2 separate regions of the Homo sapiens genome follow, and region 1 is linked to region 2. Evidence: promoter capture Hi-C in human tissues and cell types (Jung and others, 2019). All regions are on one chromosome and are shown on one strand. Each heading gives the region's core, a stretch centred on a gene start or on the middle of the fragment in contact. The rest is flanking DNA. Distances are from core to core; before and after follow the strand shown. Region 1 holds the start of POLR2C (RNA polymerase II subunit C). Region 2 has its middle 22 kb from the start of CCL22.

What was found. Contacts are between HindIII fragments. The study calls those that stand out against the background at their distance.
Region 1: the fragment with the promoter of POLR2C here is called in contact with a fragment that was not itself captured in region 2 in 5 of the 25 tissues and cell types used here (IMR-90 fibroblasts, dorsolateral prefrontal cortex, liver and 2 more).

What each region holds. Positions count from the first base shown.
Region 1 is chr16:57,461,382-57,467,082 of GRCh38, forward strand. POLR2C (RNA polymerase II subunit C) reads left to right here and starts at 1,298. Exons shown (of 9, transcript NM_032940.3): 1 at 1,298-1,429; 2 at 1,648-1,697; 3 at 4,572-4,640; 4 at 4,794-4,846. The coding sequence starts at 1,344. RefSeq lists an enhancer at 1,156-1,450. The HindIII fragment of the contact is 18,274 bases long and covers 1-5,701 here.
Region 2 is chr16:57,333,590-57,339,707 of GRCh38, forward strand. No RefSeq gene overlaps it. Among named protein-coding and RNA genes, the nearest start is that of CCL22, 22 kb to the right of the region's middle. The HindIII fragment of the contact is 4,385 bases long and covers 2,035-6,118 here.

The DNA.
Region 1 (5,701 bases), core at 48-2,547, 120 kb after region 2:
CTAATACATAGTGGTAATTATAGTACCTCTGCGTCTCTGGGCTCAAGTCTTCCCATCAGTAAAATACGGGTAACAGAAGCCTTCCCACAGACCATCAGCTCCCTTGGCTGCTCTTGTCTGACGATTTTAGTGGTACATTCTTTAGCCCCAGTAATTTTCTCAGCCTCTACACTGGCTGGGTTCCCTTTGCACGTCTGGTTAGCTCTGTTTTCTGCTTTGCTCTCTTCTGCCTGTCAGCTGAATATTAATGGGGGAAAGTCAGCAACTAATTGAATTTCAGATCTCTTGTGGGTCTTCCACTGGATCTTTTTTGCACCTCTCAATTCCTTGTATCTCTTGACATCCTGTGAAGTTTTCGCAGTAGCTGTTCCAGTTTTCATTGCATTCTCCTTTTTCCTTCATAGCATCCATCTTACACTCAGCAGACAACCATAATTCTTAATTTACCAAGATGACACAGGTTATGGAGCAGGGTTCCATCAGTGCCCACCCTCTGTTTCAGGAAGAGGTGTCACTCTTTGCAAAGGCAAACTCCTCTTTATCTGGTTACTCTTCTCCCAACTCTTAAATGTATTTCCTGCCACGTTCTATTTTAGAGCTTTTCTCTGTTGGAGCAGCAGCCACTTTTTTTGAGGCCCATTTAAACCTCTCTCCAGTCTGTTTAGGGGACTTCAGTAGTTCTTTGTTGAGCATGCACCCCACATGGTGCCCACTGCCAGGCACTGGGGATGCAGAGACAAAGAGTTCCCACTCACCCACCACAGCTACACAGACTGTAGAGGAAGCATTAGGTTAAAGAACATTGTATCTTTTCCTGAAGTTTTCAGAAGTGCATGGTCCATACTTGAGACTGCAAGGGAAAGGGTATTTACTTATAATTCAGGTATACTTTGCTAAAATATACATTCATATTAAAATATACTTTTGTTTTTCTATAGATGTACAAGTTCTTTTTAAGTGCTTCATAGTATTCCATGTGTGTATACTCCACCAGGTCTCTTATCAATGGACAGTACAAACAGTACTACCACGAACGTCCCTGCACTCGTATCTTTGTTTACAACTGCAAGTGTTTCTGCAGTATGAATTCTTAGAAGTGTTACTGTTAAGTGAAGGACGTATGCGTGTTTTGCCAAACTACCCTCCGAGATAGCTGAATCTGGTACATTTTAAAGCAGGAGGCCGCAGAAGACGCTCGGCAGTTCTGGCCTCCGAGCAGCAGGCGGCGCTGTGAGTCGTCTTTGCGGAAGCCGCGGAGGCCTCGCTGACTGACTTCCGGTGTTGGCGGTGGCGCCGCGCAGTCACCGCGGAGCAGACGCGGAGGCTGGTGGCCCCTGGGCGAGATGCCGTACGCCAACCAGCCTACCGTGCGGATCACGGAGCTCACTGACGAGAATGTCAAGTTCATCATCGAGAACACCGACCTGGCGTAAGGCTACCGAGGGAAGAGGCTGGCGGCTCTGGGGCGCCGGGAGGCCCAAGCCGGGGCCCCGGGGCAGGGGGCGGGGGTGTAGTGGGGTGGGGTGGGGGCGATGTCCTTCCAGAGCTGCCCCCCTGCACCAGGGCTTTAGCTTTGGGAGCCTGCGGCGCGGGCCCAGCCTGTCGAGGCTGCAGCGCCTTCACGCCCCTTGGCTTTTGATCTTTCAGGGTGGCCAATTCGATTCGGAGGGTCTTCATCGCTGAGGTTCCCATAATAGGTAAGCGACTCCCCTTCCTCGTTCCCGCGCCCACGGGTTCCTGCCCCGCTCTCCACCCACACACTCTTTGGGGCTCCTTCCAGTCCTTGGTTCGGGCTGAGGGTGGTAGTGCTGAGAAAAGTGCATTGCTGGAGACTTGACCATACCCTGTGCCCTTGGCTCAGTGGCCGCCTCCCTGGCGCCCACGGGCCACTTAGGTCCACCCTTGTCCTGGGTATGCATTGCTGAGAAGCATGGGTTTAGCAGTGTGCAGACTTGGGTTCAAATACTGTTTTCACTACTATTGTTACAAAAGTTTTTAAAATGTTTTCAACTTTTATTTTGGAGTCAAGGGGTACATTGGTGCAGGTTTGTTGCCTGGGTATAGTGCGTGATGCTGAGATTTGGGGTATAAATGATCCTTTCACCCAGGTAGTGAGCATAGTACGCAATAGGTAGTTTTTCACCCCTAGCCCCACTGCCTCCCTTCCAGCTCTAGTAGTCACCAGTGTGTTTATTGTCATCTTTATGTCCGTGCGTACCCAGTTTTAGCTCCCATGCGGTGTTTGGTTTTCTGTTCCTGTGTTAATTCTCTTAGGATAATGGCTTCCAGGCCGCGCTCGCGCCTGTAATTCCAGCACTTTGGGAGGCCAAGACTGAGGAACACCTGAGGCCAGGAGTTTGAGACCAGCCTGGCCAACATGGGGAAAGCCCGCCTCTACTAAAAATGCAAAAATTAGCCAGGTGTGGTGGCTCCCACCTGTAATCCCAGCTACTGGGGAGGCTGAGGCAGAATTGATTGAACCCAGAAGGTGGAGGTTGCAGTGAGCCGAGATCATGCCACTGCACTCTGGCCTGGGCAATAGAGTGAGACTCCTTCTCAAACAAAAGAAAATAAAAAAGAAGATAGTGGCTTCCAGCCACGTCCATGTTGCTGCAGAGGACATGATTTCGTTCGTTCTTATGGCTGCATCACTTACTGCTTTTGTGAAACTTGGGCAAGTTATTAAACTTCTGTGTGCTGCAGTTTCCTCATCTGTAACATTCGGCCACTAATGATCCTTATCAGGGTAATGTTAAGGATTAAGTGAGGTAATCCATATAAGTGCTTTGTGTTTAGTGAGTGCTCAGTGCTGGTAGATGGCTTTTTTATTAATCTATTCCTTCAACAGCATTTATGGAGCATGAAAGTGGCAGGCATGGTGGTAAGCTCTGGGAATGCAAAGCTGTAGAGAACAGGGTTTTTGCCCTCATGGAGTCCACAGTGAGGTTGTAGGGGAGAGATGAATCCACAGACAACACTAAAGCAAGGTAGATTTTGATCAGTAGTTCAGGAGAAGCATAGCTGTGGTGCACTTGGCTCTTAGAGGAGGGAAGATCAATTTCTGGTCTGGTTCCAGCCACTCTGCTCCAGGTGCTTAATGCATTGATTATACTTGTATGAAATACTTCAAGCATTTCTGAGAGTCAGCTCAGAGAGTTTGGATTAGGCAAAATAAATATAAGTCATAGCTGTGGCATCAAATATTCAGACTTTTAAGGAAATAAGCAGGCCAAATGATTAGGCAAGAGAACATTGTAGTTTATCCACTACCACCACCACCCCACCCCCCCGCCCCCCAGTCACTTCTTAAATTCAGCTTGGAGTGCTGGACCTCCCCCTGCCTAAGCACTTCATGCCTCTGGACCTCAGTTTCATCAGGAGTCAGGTGAGGGAGTTGTACTTCATGATGCAGCCCTGCCATTCTGAGTCTAAATGCCTCTTTCCCAACAAATTCAGTTCTACAAATAATATTGAGCACCCATGCTAGGAATACAAAGACATCCCAGGACCTGCGTGAAGGAATTTCTGAAGCTTGAGGTATAGACATAACATACACAAATATGACACAAGGCACACTATGACAAGTGTCTTGAGGGAAGTCTGAACAGAGTTTTGTGAGAGAGGAGTTGAAAGGGAGGGAATGTCACATCTGTAGCATAGAGAGCAGGCAAGGCTTAGTTTTCAGGAGGCACAGAGGATCTTAACCTGTACAGCAAGGAGGGGAAGGGTGTGCTGGAGGGAAGGGCTGGGGGATTAAAGAGGCAGAAAAGCTTGGGTCAGGGTTCTCTCAGTTGGCTTGGACTGGGGAAGCAATGGGAAGCATAGCAGGACAGAGCAGGTGGAGGCCTGGCAGGGGGAGGTCCTCTTCCGACCGCTGTTCCTAGTGTCTGTGTCCCTCGTTTGGCAGTTGGGCTCCAGTGCCATTTGATTCCTGGATTTAGTTGGTTCCATGCAAATGTTTATGAATGAATAAATGTGTGTTTAAGTCAAGCATGTGTGATCGATAATACAGTCTTTACCCTCCTACGAGCTCATTGCTGCTAGGGATTGGGTTCTATATTTAGTATACTTTGCGCATTAAAAGAATTCAGTAAACATTTGTTGATTGAGTGTTTAAAAAGTGCTAAGTTGGGCAGTCCAGTCATTATATCCTAAAATGAGGTATGGCCCCATAAGTCTGTGTTGCTTCTGTGAGGGTTTCCCTGACTTTGAAGTGCTCAAATAGTTCATGTTCTTGGATTTAGTGGTGGCACAGGTAGCAGATTTAAGTGCTTCTCATGCAAATACTCAGCTCAAATAAACATGTTTCCACTTCTATGATATTCTATAAGTCAGTGTTTTCTGTGAAGCAGGGAGCCCCCTGCATTAAATTCACCTGGGCAGGGAGGTGAGGTGTGGTGTGTGTGGGTCTTATTAAAATGCAAGTACCTGGGCCCCACTCTAATGCTGTGGAATCAGCCCAGCAATCTGCAGTTTAGTGTCAGGTGATTCCTAAATCTTGAGAACCACTGCATTAAGTCTGTAGGTAAATTTGATGGCTAAACTCCATGTCTGCTTCTTTCATTTTTTAGCCATTGACTGGGTTCAGATTGATGCCAATTCCTCAGTTCTTCATGATGAATTCATTGCTCACAGGCTTGGTGAGTACTCCTTTTACTAGGAGGTTAAAGGGAGGGTATTGTGCCTAGTGTCAGGAGGGGGCCTCCTTCCAGCCTCACCCCCAGAAGGCTTCTGGGTTCTCATTTTGGCTTGGCTGTTTGGTTTTCTTTAAAGTGCTTTTCTGTTTTTTACAGGATTAATTCCCCTCATTAGTGATGACATTGTGGACAAGCTGCAGTACTCTCGGGTATGTTGTGTGATTGGGTGGAATGTGAGGTTTGGTGGGGAGGCTTTGGTTCTCAAAGGGATTTTTCCTGACATTTGGCATCCAGCTTGAATACTGTTGTAGTTCTGGAACAACAACGTGGAGATGTTGTCTAGAGCCTGGGCAGGCCTTGGTCCTGCGTTCTGATGGGGCTTCAGATTGATTAGCACGCAGAACATCAGGGAGTGTTGTTAGGCAGCTCCACCACAGTGCCCATTTATACTTAGAGTGGAGGTTCTTCCTTCCAAAGCATCTCTTCCCAGTAGCAGGGGCCTTAGGATGCTACAGGAGTCAACAGAAGGTTGGGGTAGGCAAGGAGCAGAGGGAATGGGAGCTGTCTCACAAGAGCAGCTCCTGGGGGACTAGTCCTGGTGTCTGCAGATTCATGCTGTCCCCTCCCTCGCAGGTGATGCTGCTTAAACATGGCCACACTCTTAGTGTCTCACCCCCTTCCTCCTGGTCGTGTTTGCTCCCTGATGGCATGTTAACAGGCCTTCAGAGTTTGGAGAGAGTAGGATAGGAGTCGGTTACCTTCATCCTTTCACTAGGCTGCATTACACAGCAGCTTAAGGCTACTCCCTCTTGATGGCTTTGGGTGATCCAGAATCAGTCCATTTTCTAATATTCTCAAGGGCCATGTCATTTTTGTGATGGCTAATTTGATATATCTTATAAATATGTGTGTATTTTTAAAAAAGAAATATTCAGCTGGATGCAGTGGCTCACACCTGTAATCCCAGCACTTTGGGAGGCCGAGGCGGGTTTATCACGAGGTCAGGAGATCGAGACCATCCTGGCTGACACGGTGAAACCCTGTCTCTACTAAAAATACAAAAT
Region 2 (6,118 bases), core at 2,977-5,476:
TTTCCTCAGCACTTTGAATAGGTAATTCTACTACCTTCTGGCATCCATAATTTCTGGTGAGAAAATGCCTGTTAATCTTTTCTTTTTGAGATGGAGTCTAGCTCTGTTGCATAGGCTGGAGTGCAGTGGTGCAGTCTTGGCTCACTACAACCTCCATCTCTTGGGTTCAAGCAATTCTCCCACTTCAGCCCTCCGAGTAGCTGGGAGTACAGACGTGCACTACCACATCCAGCTAATTTTTGTATATGTAGTAGAAACGAGGCTTCGCCATGTTGCCAGGCTGGTCTAGAGCTCCTGACTTCATGTGATCTGCCCACCTTGGCCTCCCAAAGTGCTGAGATTACAAGTGTGAGCCAACACGCCCAGCTGACAGCTATTAATCTTATTGAGGATCCTTTGTCTGTGGTGAATGGGTTTTCTCTTGCTGCTCTCAAGATTCTCTCTTTAGCTGTCTTTCCAGGGTTTTATAATGACGTGTCTAGGTGATGATCTCTTTGAATTTATCTTACTTTAAGTTCATTGAGATTCTTTTTTTTTCCTAACCCAATTTCACACTGAGAGATTCTTAAATGTGAGGATTAATGTTGCTCATTAAGTTTGGAAAGCTTTCAGCCATTGTTTTTTCAAATAGTTTTTCTACTGTTTTTTCTCCTTCTGGGACTCCCACTACACATACGTTGGTGTGTTTGATAGCATAACACAGGTCTCTGAGGCTCTGTTCACATTTTTCATTCCCTGCCCTCTACCATTTTATAGACTGGATAATCTTTCTTTCTTTTTATTTTCTTTTCTTTTTTTTGAGATAGAGTCTCACAGTCTCACTATGTTGCCCAGCCTGGAAGGCTGTGTCACAGTCTCGGCTCACTGCAACTTCTGCCTTTGGGGTTCAAGCAATTCTCCCACTTCAGCCTCTGAGTAGCTGGGATTACAGGCATGCACCACCACATGCCCGGCTGTTTTTTGTGTTTTTAGTAGAAATGGGGTTTCACCACGTTGGCCAGACTGGTCTTGAACTCCTGACCTCAGGTGATCTGCCCACCTTGGCCTCCCAAAGTGCTAGCATTACAGGCGTGAGCCACTGCGCCTGGCCGAGACTGAATAATCTTAATTAACCTATCTTCAAGTTCACAAATTATTCCTTCTGCCAGCTCAAAGCTGCTTTAGAGCCCTTCCAGTGAATTTTTTCATTTCAGTTATTATGTTTTTCAACTCCAGAATTTCTGTTTGTTCCTTATTTTACAATTTCTATCTCTTTATTGGTATTCTCTATAGGTGAGACATTGTATATTTTAATTCTTTAGACATGGTTTCTTTTTGTTCATTGAACATATTTATAATAGTTGACTTAAAGCTGTTGTCTCACAGTTCAATGTTTGGGCTTCCTCAGGAGACAGCTTCTATTGACTACTCTCCCTCACCTAATGTATGGGTCATACTTTCCCATTTTTTGACATGTCTCCAAAATTTTTAAATTAAAAACTGGAAATTTAAAATGATACAACATGTTATCAAGCAGGGTCCCACGGAAATAAAAGAAAAAAATAAAATGATGTAACATGGAAACTCTAGCAATCACATTCCACCTTCCCAGTTGCTTGTTATGAACTGAATGTTTGTGTCTCCAAAAATCCATATGTTGAAACTCTAAGCCCCAGTGTGGCTGTATTTGGTGATGGGCCCTCTAAAGAAGTAATTGAGGTTAAATAGGTCATAAGGATGGAGCCTTGATCTGATAGGATTAGTATCCTCATCAGAAGAGATACCAGTCAGCTCGATCTCTTAGTGTCAGCTACACCCGCAATGATGTGTGAGCAGTATCTAGAACATCTTTTTTGCAAAATGGAGCTCTATGCCCATTAAACAGCTCCCCATTCCCTCATCCCCCACAGCCTTTGACAACCACCATTGTACTTCCTGTCTCTGTGAATTTGACTACTCTAGTTACCTCACATGAGGGGAATTATACAGTATTGCCTTTTGAGACTGGCTTATTTTACTTGGCGTAATGTTCTCAAAGTCATCCATGTTGTACGTGTCGTAATTTCCTTCCTTTTTAATGAATAATATTCACTTTGTGTATATGCCACATCTGGTTTATGCATTCATCTGTTGATGGACACTTGGGTTGCTTCCACCTCTTGACTGTTATGAAAAATGCCACAGTGAACATGAATGTGCAGGTATCTGTTCAAGATCCTGCTTTCAATTCTTTTGGATATATACCCCAAAAAGGAATGTCTGGATCACATAGTATTCTACTTTTAATTTTTTCAGGAACCACCATACTGTTTTCCATAGTGGCTATACAATTTTATATTCCCACCAGCGGTGAACAAGAGTTCCAATTCCTCCACATCCTTGCCATCACTTGTTATTTTCTGTCTTTTTTTTTTTAATTAGTCATCCTAATGGGTGTGGGTTGATATTTGTCTTGATTTGCAGTTTCCTAATAAATAATGATGTTTAACGTTTTTTCATCTTGGCCATTTGTCTATCTGCTTTTTTTTTTTTTTTTTTGACGGAGTCTTGCTGTGTTGCCCAGGCTGGAGTGCAGTGGCGTGATCTCGGCTCACTGCAAGCTCCGCCTCCTGGGTTCACGCCATTCTCCCGCCTCAGCCTCCCAAGTAGCTGGAACTACAGGCGCCCGCCACCATGCCCAGCTAATTTTTTGTATTTTTAGTAGAGATGGGGTTTCACCATTCATGGGATGGTCTCGATCTCCTGACCTTGTGATCTGCCTGCCTCAGCCTCCCAAAGTGCTTGGATTACAGGTGTAAGCCACCATGCCTGGCCGGCCATTTGTATATCTTTTTAGGAGAAATACCTATTCAAGTCCTTTGTTCATTTTAAAATTGGGTTATTTGTCTTTTTCTTATTGTGTTGCAGGAGTTCCTCATATATACATATATATATATATACATATATATATATATATGTGTATATATATATGTTTTTTTTTTTTTTTGAGACGGAGTCTCACTCTGTCACCCAGGCTGGAGTGCAGTGGTGCGATCTCAGCTCACTGCTGCCTCTGCCTCCTAGATTTAAGCGATTCTCCTGCCTCAACCTCCCAAGTAGCTGGTATTACAGGTGAACACCACCGCACCTGGCTAATTTTTTGTATTTTTTAGTAGAGATGGGGTTTCACCATGTTGGCTAGGCTGGTCTCTAACTCCTGACTTCAGGTGAACCACCTGCCTTGGCTTCCCAAAGTGCTGGGATTACAGGCGTGAGCCACTGCACCTGGCCGAGTTCCTCATATATTTTGCATATTAACCCTGGATATGTAATTGCAAATATAGTCTCTCATTCTATAGGTTGTCTTTTCACTCTGTTGATTGTGTCATTTGATGCACAGAAGTTTTAGATTTTGATGTAGTTTAATGTATCTATTTTTACTTTTGTTATCTGTGCTTTTGGTATGATTATCCAGAAAATCCTTGCCAAGTCTGATGTCATGAAGCTTTCTTGTATGTTTTCTTCTAAAAGTTTTATAGTTTATTTTTTACATTTAGGTTTTTGATCCATTTTGATTTAATTTTTGTATATGGTGTATAAAGTAAGGATCTTACTTTATTCTTTTGTATGTGGATATTCAGTTCTCCCATATCATTTGTTGAAGAAACTGTCCTTTCTCCATTGTATAGTCTTTTCACTCCTGTCAAAGCTCATTTGACCATATGAACAAGAGTTTATTTCTGGGCTCTGTATTTTGTTCCATCCATTTATATGTCTGTCTTTATACTGGTACCACACTGCTTTGATTACTGTTGCTTTGCAGTATGTTTTATTATTTATTTTTATTTATTATTATTATTTTTTGTAGAGATGGGATCTCACTTTGTTGCCCAGGCTGGCCTCAAACTCCTGGCCTCAAGCATTTCTCCTGCTTTGACCTCTCAAAGTGCTGGGGTTATAAACATGAGCCACCCTGCCTAGCCTGTAGTATGTTTTTAAGTCAGAAAGTGTGATGTTTCCAACTTTGTTTTTCTCTTTCAATATTATTTTGGCAATTTGGGTTCTCTTGAGTTTCCATATAAATTTTAGAATTTTTTTTAAAAATGATGTTGGGATTTTGATAGGGATTGGATTAAATTTGTAGATTGCTTTGGTTACTATTGACATCTTAACAATATTAAGTCTTTTGATCCATGAACATAGGATGTCTTTCCATTTATTTGTGTCTTTGTTTCTTTCAGAAACATTTGTAGTTTTCAACATATAAGCCTTTTATCTTGTTGGTTAGGTTAGGTTTATTCCTACATATTTTATTCTTTTTGATGCTATTGTAAATGGAATTATTTTCTTAATTTTATTTTCAGATTGTTAATTGTTAGTGTGTAGAGATGCAATTGTTGTTTGCTTTTTTTTTTTTTTGACAAGATCTGGCTCTGTCACCCAGGCTGGAGAGCAGTGGTGCGATCTCGACTCACTGCAACCTCTGCCTTCCAGGCTCAAACCATCCTCCTGCCTCAGCCTCCCAAGTAGCTTGGACCACAAGCGTGCACCACCACACTCAGTGAATTCTGGTACTTTTTGTAGGGACAGGGTTTCGCCATATTGCCCAGGCTGTTCTTGAACTTGTGAGCTCAAGTGATCCATCTGCCTTGGCATCCCAAAGTGCTGGGATTACAGGCATAAGCCACCACACCCAGCTGCAATTGACTTTTATGTGACCATTTTGTGTCCTGCAACTTTACTGAATTGTTTGTTAGTTTTAATAGCTTTTTAATGGATGCAATTTTTAGGGTTTGCTGCATATAGGATCATGTCATCTTCAAACAGAGATAATTTTACTTCTTCATTGTCAATATGGATGCCTTTTATTTCTCTTTCTTGCCTAATTGCTCTGGCTAGGATTCCAGTACTATGTTATTAGAAGTGGTGAAAGCAGGCATCCTTACTTATTCCTGGTCTTAGAGAACAAGCTTTCAGTCTTTCACTATCAGGTTTGTTTTAATCTGCACATAACTATGCTTAGGTAGTTTCCTTCTATTCCTAGTTTGTTGTGTATTTCTCCATTGTTTTGGACAAAAGTCATGTGTTAATCTTACTGTCATTTCTGTGTATATGATGGATTTTCTTTTCTGCTTTCAAGTTTTTATTTTCTTCTTTTCAACAGTTTAATTATAACGTGCTCATGTGTGGATCTCTTTGAGTCTATCCTACTTCTGGCTCATTCAGATTCTAGGATGTGTAGATTAATGTTATCATCAAATTTTGGAATTTTTCAGCCATTTTTTTCTTTGAATATTTTTTCTGCCCATTTCTCTATTTTTTCCCTCTTTCTCAGAGTCCTGTTACCTGGATGTTGGTGCATTTGATGATGGGCCAAGGCTTCTTAGTCTCTGTTCATTTTCTTCAGTCTTTTTTCTCTCCATTATTCAGCTTGTATAATCTCTGCTGATCTATCCTCAAGATTGCCAATTCTTTATTTTGTCAGCTCAAATTTGCTTTTAAGCCCCTCCAGGGAAATTTTCATTTTAGACACTATACTTTTCAAATCCAGAATTTCTATTGGTTCTCTTAAAAATAATTTTTCTTGGCAGGGCACGGTGGCTCATGCCTCTAATTCCAGCACTGTAGGAGGCTGAGGCGGGTGGATCACCTGAGGTCAGGTGTTTGAGACTAGCCTGGCCAACATGGAAAAACCCCATTTCTACTAAAAATACAAAACTTAGCAGAACTTATAACAAACTACAAAAACTTATAACAAAACTGCAAAACTGTGAGAAAAAATAATCATTTGAAAACTGGAGATTGATCAAAATTATAAGTAGTAGGTAGAATAATGGGTGACAGAGTGAGATTCTGTCTCAAAAAAAGAAAAAAGAAAAAACTAACACAGTATGTAACAAATTGAGAAGTGTTTACTTTGAAAAGTCTTGAACTTTAATGAGAAAAGAATGAGGGCTTTGTGTGGGTGGGTGGGTGTTTCAGAGCTTCCTCACTCAGTCATTCTGGAAGTCCCATCTATATGTGATACATTCTTACAATGGAATACTGTGGAGGAATGAGAATGAAGTAAAAGGGCAAGCAAAGACATGGCTGAATCTCCTAAACATAATGTTGAATGAAAGGAGTCAGGCACAGGCCAGGTGCAGTGGCTCATGCCTGT